3 separate regions of the Homo sapiens genome follow, and all the other regions are linked to region 2. The links are contacts of gene promoters, found by promoter capture Hi-C in blood cells and fetal thymus (Javierre and others, 2016). All regions are on one chromosome and are shown on one strand. Each heading gives the region's core, a stretch centred on a gene start or on the middle of the fragment in contact. The rest is flanking DNA. Distances are from core to core; before and after follow the strand shown. Region 1 overlaps EIF3J (eukaryotic translation initiation factor 3 subunit J). Region 2 holds the start of AFG2B (AAA ATPase AFG2B). Region 3 overlaps SPG11 (SPG11 vesicle trafficking associated, spatacsin).

What was found. The method cuts DNA at HindIII sites, captures the fragments that hold promoters and counts their contacts. A CHiCAGO score of 5 or more calls a contact.
Region 1: a contact is called between a fragment that was not itself captured here and the fragment with the promoter of AFG2B in region 2, in 1 of 17 cell types (fetal thymus). The highest score is 5.0, in fetal thymus.
Region 3: a fragment that was not itself captured here is called in contact with the fragment with the promoter of AFG2B in region 2 in 1 of 17 cell types (neutrophils); the score reaches 5.1 in neutrophils.

The regions. Positions count from the first base shown.
Region 1 is chr15:44,538,619-44,541,318 of GRCh38, reverse strand. All of the region lies in intron 2 of EIF3J (eukaryotic translation initiation factor 3 subunit J), which reads right to left. Among named protein-coding and RNA genes, the nearest start is that of EIF3J, 2.8 kb to the right of the region's middle. The HindIII fragment of the contact is 4,412 bases long and covers 1-2,700 here.
Region 2 is chr15:45,401,070-45,403,769 of GRCh38, reverse strand. AFG2B (AAA ATPase AFG2B) reads right to left here and starts at 1,434. Exons shown (of 8, transcript NM_024063.3): 1 at 252-1,434. The coding sequence starts at 1,340. It also overlaps a transcript of GATM not described here. RefSeq lists silencers at 602-751, 1,142-1,221 and enhancers at 1,302-1,461, 1,852-1,921, 1,932-1,981. The HindIII fragment of the contact is 3,246 bases long and covers 1-2,700 here.
Region 3 is chr15:44,652,267-44,654,966 of GRCh38, reverse strand. All of the region lies in intron 4 of SPG11 (SPG11 vesicle trafficking associated, spatacsin), which reads left to right. Among named protein-coding and RNA genes, the nearest start is that of SPG11, 10 kb to the left of the region's middle. The HindIII fragment of the contact is 9,884 bases long and covers 1-2,700 here.

The DNA.
Region 1 (2,700 bases), core at 150-2,649, 860 kb after region 2:
TTCTACTGAAATGCTAGGAGACTAGTAAAATGGAGCAAAAGTTATGTTGTCCTTGTGTCCAGTAGGTACTCACTGCCTTCTCAGTCAACACATCCTACATATCATACCAGCAATGAGGAAGGAGTCATATATGCCAAGTGAACAATTCTTCCCACTACCTCTGCACAACTATCAGGATAGTAAAAAAGGTAAATAAAGCCAGGGTGATGGGAAACTATGCTCCCGAGTTCTCATCTTTTTAACTGGGGAAAAGCATAGTCTTTTCTTGCCATATATATTAACGGTTGTACAGTTTCACCTAAGTCCACTTCTGCCACTGCCAGACAGCTATTTGAAAAGTCAAGGACAGCAAAATACTAAGTCTACTAAATGAGAGTAAAGTGCTGGAGCAAATTATAATAACAAAAACATCAGTTTTCCTTTCATTTCCCAGGACATTACAAATGACATTAAACCTGTATTTTTAAAGGTTAAGTACTAGATGCTGACATGAACAGAAGACCTCACGGAAACTAAGCCTTGTCTGCAACTCCTCATAAAAAGTACAAAAACATAAGAATTCAGAAATTTGGTGATATGGCTGAGTCTGCTGGCTCACGCCCATAATCCCAGCATTTTAGGAGGCTGAGGAGGATAGATCACTTGACTCCAAGAGTTCGAGACCAGCCTGGGCAACTTGGCGAAACTCTATCTCTACCAAAAACACAAAAATTAGCCAGTCTCACAAATCTGTCTCAAAATAAATAGGCCAGGTGCAGTGGCTCACACCTGTAATCTCAGCACTCTGGGAGGCCAAGGCGGGAAGATCGCTTTAACCTCAGGAGTTTGAGACCAGCCTGGGCAACTTGGCGAAACTCCACCTCTACCAAAAACACAAAAATTAGCCAGTCTCACAAATCCGTCTCAAAATAAATAGGTCAGGTGCAGTGGCTCACATCTGTAATCCCAGCACTCTGGGAGGCCGAGGCGGGAAGATCACTTTGACCTCAGGAGTTTGAGACCAGCCTAGGTAACATGGCGAAACCCTGTATCTACAAAAAAAAAAAAAAAATATATATATATATATATATATATATATATATAGCCAGGCGCGGTGGCTCACGTCTGTAATCCCAGCACTTTGGGAGGCCGAGGCGGGTGGATCACGAAGTCAGGAGTTCAAGACCGGCCTGGCCAAGATGGTGAAACCCCGTCTCTACTAAAAATACAAAAATTAGCTGGGTGTGGTGGTGGGCGCTTGTAATCCCAGCTACTCGGGAGGCTGAGGCAGAGAACTGCTTGAACCTGGGAGGCGGAGGTTGCAGTGAGCCAAGATCGTGCCACGGCACTCCAGCCTGGGTGACAGAGCAAGACTCTATCTCAAAAAAAAAAAAAAGAAAAAAATATGTAAATTAGCTGGGCACGGCGGTGCACACCTGTAATCCCAGCTACTAGAAAGGCTGAGGCTGGAGAATCACTTGAATCCGGGAGGCGGAGGTTGCAGAGATCGTGCCACTGCACTCCAGCCTGGGAAACGGGGTGAGACCTTCTCTCAAAAAATTAGATGAATAGATAGATTGCTTTAAGTTAAAAAAAAAAAAAAAAAAGAAAAAGAAATTTAGCACTAAAACAGCAACTGGGGCCGGGTGTGGTGGCTCACGCCTGTAATCCCAGCACTTTGGGAGGCCAAGGCGGGCAGATCACAAGGTCAGGAGATTGAGACCATCCTGGCTAACACGGTGAAACCCCGTCTCTACTAAAAATAGAAAAAATTAGCCGGGCGTGGTGGTGGGCACCTGTAGTCCTCGGGAGGCTGAGGCAGGAGAATGGAGTGAACCTGGGAGGCGGAGCTTGCAGTGAGCGGAGATTGTGCCACTGCACTCCAGCCTGGGTGACAGAGCGAGACTCCATTTCCAAAAAAAAAAGAGCAACTGGACAAGATAATCTTTGTGGTCCCTTACAACTTGTAAATATCCAAAACTTGTTCCAAGTGATCAGAATTATATTCATCAGAGGCTGGGTACGGTAGCTCACGCCTATAATTCCAGCACTTTGGGAGGCTAAGGCAGGAGAATCACCTGAGGTCAGAAGTTCAAGACCAGCCTGGGCAACATGGCGAAACCCCGTCTCTACTAAAAATACAAAATTAGCCAGGCGTGGTGGTGCGTGCCTGTAATCCCAGCTACTTGGGAGGCTGAAGCAGGAGAATCACTTGAACCCAGGAGGTGGAGGTTGCAGTGAGCCAAGATCGCGCCATTGCACTCCAGCCTGGGCAACAAGAGCGAAACTCCATCTCAAAAAAAAAAAAAAAAAGAATTATATTCATCAAGATCGATACCATTTAGATCCCTTAATCCCAAGGAAGTTATTCCATGACATTAGTCTAGACTATCCATTAAAACTTCATTTTCTGCAACTTCTTTCCTAATATCTCTAATCTTTTCTCTGCATTTGTTAATTTATTCCCAAATTTCATAACAGATGTCTTAACTGCCACTTCCTATATGCATGGAAAAAAATGAAAGGACCAATATGAACCCAAGGCTCAAAACTGAAAATCTGCTACAATGTAGAGGGGTAACTAATATCTTGTAATGCGGCTGGTAACAAAATCTAGTCCCATGTTTCTACAACATGTAAATAAAGCATCTGAGTGTCTTCAAACAATAACCAGTCGATTTATTAACTTCAATGTGTGCAAAGCTCACAACATTCTTGAAC
Region 2 (2,700 bases), core at 185-2,684:
GACTCTGGGGAAACAGGTCCTGACTCTCAGATCCTGACTCACAGGTCCTGACAATTTGACTCTGGGGAAATACAGGTCCTGACTCACAGATCATATATCGGCAGAGAACGTGTTCTCTGCATTGCAAAGAGCCCCAACTCCAACCTCACCGATGCTCAAACCTAAGAGGCAAACGCCTCCGGGGCAGCCAAATGGCGCCAGAAGCGGCCGAGGTTCCACCGACAGTGGGCAAACCCGCCAAGCCCATTCACCTCTCGGTCAAATCTCCCGGGCCTACGCAGCGCTGGGTCTAGAGCGTCCGGCCGGTTAGTGGCTCCCACAACCACGACCTCGCGGTCCCCACTGGCGCCGTCCAGCAGCGTCAACACCTGGGCCACTACGCGGCTCTCGGGTGCTCGACTGCCCCGCTGGGGACACAAGGCGTCCATCTCGTCCAGGAAGAGGAGGCTGGGTCCGCGGCTGGCCAGTTCCCGGGCGCGCTGGAAGACCCGCCGCACGTTCTCCTCGGTCTCCCCAGGCCGGGAACCCTGCAGCGCCGGGGCGCTGACTGCCAGCAGCTCCGCGCCCGCCTCGCGCGCCACGGCCCGCACCAGCTGGGTCTTGCCCACTCCGGGGGGCCCCGCCAGGAGCACCCCGCGAGGCACCGCTAAGCCCAGCGCGGTCAGGGCGCGCGGGTAGCGGAGCGGGAGGCGGAGGAGCTCCCGCAGCGAGTCGGCCGCCTCCGAAAGACCTCCCAGGGGCACCTCGGGCTGCGGCTGGGCTTCCGACGGAGGCTCCCCGCCAAGGCTGACGCGGGTACGAGGGGTGACCAGCCCAGCGGGATCGGGACTGGGCGTCCCGCCGACGATGTGCAAGGCAGCCACCAGGCCAGGAGCGCCTGGCGGAGCGACCACCACGTGGCCCAGGGAGATCGGTCGGTTTCTCAGCAGCTCCTGTGCCGCCTCCAGCACCGCGGCTGTATTCCGGGCACCGGGCGCGCCTGCCCGCTCTCGCAACACCGGCCACACGGCGACGCGCCGCAGGGGCGGACAGGGCACTAGGAGGAGGCGATTCAGGCTGAGACTCCTCCGGGATCTCGACGCCCCGACCGCCGCCCCGGGGCTCGCGCACAGCGGGTCCAGCTGCACAAAGCCGTCCGCTCCGTCCCGCCGAGGCCAGGCAGTGCAGAGGCAGGAGCCGCCGTCGGGTAGCGAGATCTTCACTGCCGAGCCCAAGCGCGCGCCCAGGGCGTGGAGGGCGGCCGGGCCCAGGCGGCAGCGCTGGGTGCCCCGGTCTCTAGCGTCTAAGGGTAGCAGCTTTAAGAGCGGCCCTTCAGGGAAGGGATCCGAGTCCGGAGCCATCGCACACAGATGAACCAGGCAGACGAAACCAGATTAGGAAACCCACCCGGCCCACAAAAAGCGGAACACCGAGCTCGCAGGCCGGAAGCAGATTGCGCGCATGCGCTAGGGCAGACTGCGTTGCTAGCAGCTGAGTGAAGGCCGAAAGGGCCAATGGAAACGTTAGACGACGCTCGGGCCTCTGGGTAGAGCGTTGGTGTCCGCTTTCGTGAAATCGAGTTGCCTAACCCAGAGCTTTCCCGAGATGGTCTTCGTTACAGGTGTCTGGGAGGCGGCTTAAGCTCACTTCACTAGGTCATTAAGCATGTACTTTGGTGGTTACATATATCTTGGAAGTCACCGGCTTTACATTCTGTTTTCCTGGCCTTCGAACTGGAGCATCAGTACTACCGCCGTTGGAATAGCAACCTAGAGACTTTGCTATTTTGTGAAGAAACTCTAACTATCCGCATGGGCACAGAATTTTGGGTGCTCTGGTGCAAATGTCTCAGGTGACTTGGCGTAACTGAGAATACAGCCTTGGGACCTTCGGTAATCGGGGTTCCAATCTGGGAGGTCCAGGCACAACCCTTCCTATGGGAAAGTACCAGCATAGTGGGAGGGAAGCACACGGTAGCGCTTAAAATCCCTTGTAGAGAGGAAAGAAGGAAAACTAGGCTACCTGATGGATTTGTAGCACACCAACAGTACATTTGTTCTGATTTCTGATATTCTTTTGAATATTCTTTGGCAACAAGTTAATCACTAAAGTTCATGCGATCAATGCTTACTGTCTAATTGGGGCACAACAGTACTAAGTCCTGTATTAGAGGCGATACCTATCTACGTTATTAAGACAACTGCCTGCTATTTTTTTTTTCCAGCTGCTTTCTGCCTTTCCCTTTCGCACAGGGAATTCCTTTTTATCAGCTGGAATACATTTTCTATCCCTCTTAATTGCCGTTAAAAAAGAACTACAGATACTCAAAGACAAGAAGATATACCTTGTTTTTATTTGACTTACATCTTCCTACCTCTATTTTCCCCACTTTCACTGCAACCCAAATTTGTGAGTTGACAAAACTGATATTTTAGAGTGCTTAAGTTGCTGGGAAGTTTTTTTTTTCTATCTATGCAAATAATCAATTACAGACTGTGTAGTAATATCTTATCAATGGGAAGTACTGTCAGATCTGGGATCTTAAGACCCATGCCAGTTCCTGATCTCATTCTGTCCAAACTTCATGGCAGACATGACAGACTTCTTGACTTGACAGTAACTTACCTGGTCTCAGCTGTACTTGTCTGCTTAAATCGATTCTGGAACAATTTAGGAATCAGAAAATAGCAGGAGGAGGTCTTGAAATGGATAAGTCACCCA
Region 3 (2,700 bases), core at 201-2,700, 750 kb after region 2:
TGCAGTTATTTAATACTGCATCTTGACATTCGTTTACATTTTCTTTGGCTTCGAATGGTATCATGTACAGTCCGTAAGTGTGTACATTACATAGGTTCTGATAAATGTTAACTTTTTTTTTTTCTTTTTTGAGATGGAGTTTCGCTCTTGTTGTCCGGGATGGAGCGCAATGGTGCAATCTCAGCTCACTGCACCCTCCGCCTCCTGGGTTCAAGCGATTCTCCTGTCTCAGCATCCTGAGTAGCTGGGATTACCCACCACCCACGCCTGGCTAATTTTTTGTATTTTTAGTAGAAATGGGGTTTCACCGTGTTGGCCAGGCTGGTTTTGAACTTATGACCTCAGATGATCCGCCCACCTTGGCCTCCCAAAAATGCTGGGATTACAGGCGTGAGCCACCGCGCCCAGCCAATCTTAACTTTTTATAATAAGTTTGTGGGTTTCTTTTTTTTTAATTTTGAGATGGAGTCTTGCTCTATTGCCAAGGTTGGAGTGCAGTGGTGCAGTCTCGGCCCACTGCAAGGTCCGCCTCCTGGGATCAAGTGATTCTCGTGTCTCAGCCTCCCAAGTAGCTGGGATTATAGGCATGTGCCACCACGCCCAGCTAATTTTTGTATTTTCAGTAGAAACGGTTTCGCCATGTTGGCCGGGCTGGTCTTGAACGCCTGACCTCAAGTGATCCACCTGCCTCAGCCTCCCAAAGTGCTGGGATTACAGACATGAGCCACTGTGCCCAGCCAATTTGTGCATAATTTATGGTAGAAAATGATAGAGTAGTAACTATGTAACTTTTATGCATTCATGACATACCTGACTTAATCTTTATTTTAAAAAATATTTCTAGGCTAAACTGGGCATGGTAGTACATGCCTGTGGTCTCAGCTACTCCGGAGGCTGAGGCAGGAGGATTGCTTGAGTCCAGGAGATCAAGGCTACAGTGAGCTGTCATTGCACCACTGCACTCCAGCCTGGGCAACAGAGCAAGACCCTGTCTGAAAAAAATATATTTCTAGGCTACATGGTTCATTTGTGAGTTTAAACAAATTGTTGCAAATCTTTACAAATTTTTCCAATGTATTTTTGGAAAAAAAAAATCATATAAGTGGACCCATGGAGTTCAAACCTGTGATATTCAAGGGTCAACTGTATGTATAGGGTTTGGTACTATCTGCAGTTTCAGGTACCTACTGTGTGTCTTGAATGTATCCACTGTGGATAAGAGGGAACTACTGTATCTCCAACTTCTTTTTGGTATTAGATCCACATCCAGTTAATCATCAGGTCCTACCCTTTCTGTCTCCTAAATGTTTCTTTGTCCACTTTTCTCAACTCTTCTGTCGTCACTCTATGCCACCATTATCTCTTAACTGAACTATTTTAATAGTCTCCTACTTGATCTCCTCATGCCTATTACCCCCTCAAATCCATCCACAATAGAGTAGCTAAGAGTGATGTTGTTAAAATGCATATTTTATCAGAGGTGTAGCCAGTCATTAACATCTGGGGCAGGGGTATCTACCTTTTATTTTGTTGATGGGGGAACTATTTTCTCATGCATCTTCTCATTTTCGCCCTACCTTCTCTAACTTCTTTTCATCATCATCCTGGGACAGTGTCATATGGTTGTGTCAACAAATTACCTTCAAGTTGTTTAAAGGATTAATATTTAATAATGTAAGTGTTCAAAGAGATAAAATCCTTCCCCTTCTTCCCCTAGCTACTCTGCTGCATCTGTTCATATTGCTTTTCTGCTTAAAAGCCTTCTTCAGGTTCCTTTTCCCCCTCAGATAAAAGTTTAAAATTCTTAATAGCCTATGGGGCCCTGAACCATCTTTCTAGCCTCATCCCATTCCATCTTACTTCTCATTTTCTGTACATTAGCCACCCTAGCCTTCTTTGTTTCTCAAATGTAACAGCCCCCTTTTCCACATATACTCTCCCACCTATACCCACATACATACTTTACCTTCTAGTTCTTATGCATTCCTCTGGTCGCAGCCTAAATCTTACTTTGTGGTGGCAGTATAATGAGTGATTTTAAAATCTGGACTGGAGGCCGAGGCAGGCACATCACTGGAAGTCAGGAGTTTGAGACCAGCTTGGCCAATATATAGTAAAACCCTGTCTCTACTAAAAATACAGAAATTAGCCAGGCATGGTGGCATGCACCTGCAGTCCCAGCTACTCGGGAGGCTAAGACAGGAGAATCGCTTGAACCCAGGAGGCAGAGGTTGCAGTGAGCTGAGATTGCGCCACTGCACTCCAGCCTGGGTGACAGAGTGAGACTCTGTCTCAAAAAAAAAAAAAAGAAAAAAAGCTAGACTTGATAGTCACATTAGTCTGTTTCAAAGTGTTTCTGAACCTTAGTTTCCATTTCTATAAGATGGGGTTATATTTACCTCACAGGGTTGTTAGAGGCTTAAATAAGAGTTTGTGTGAAGTGTTTAGCATAACATCTGAAATATAGTAGACAGTAAGTGTTCTTACTGCTTTATCAAGCTAACTGCCCTTAATAGAGTAAAATTCTTAGAGTTCACTCTATTACTGTGACATAAGCAAGGGAGATAAGGAGTTCCTTTCTGCGGAATTTGTTGTACTATTCCTTCTCTGTAATCTCTTATTTTTAACAGGAGCAGTAGTAACACAAATTTGGGTTTGATCATCATTTTTTCATATGTCTATCATTATTTTTAAATGTAG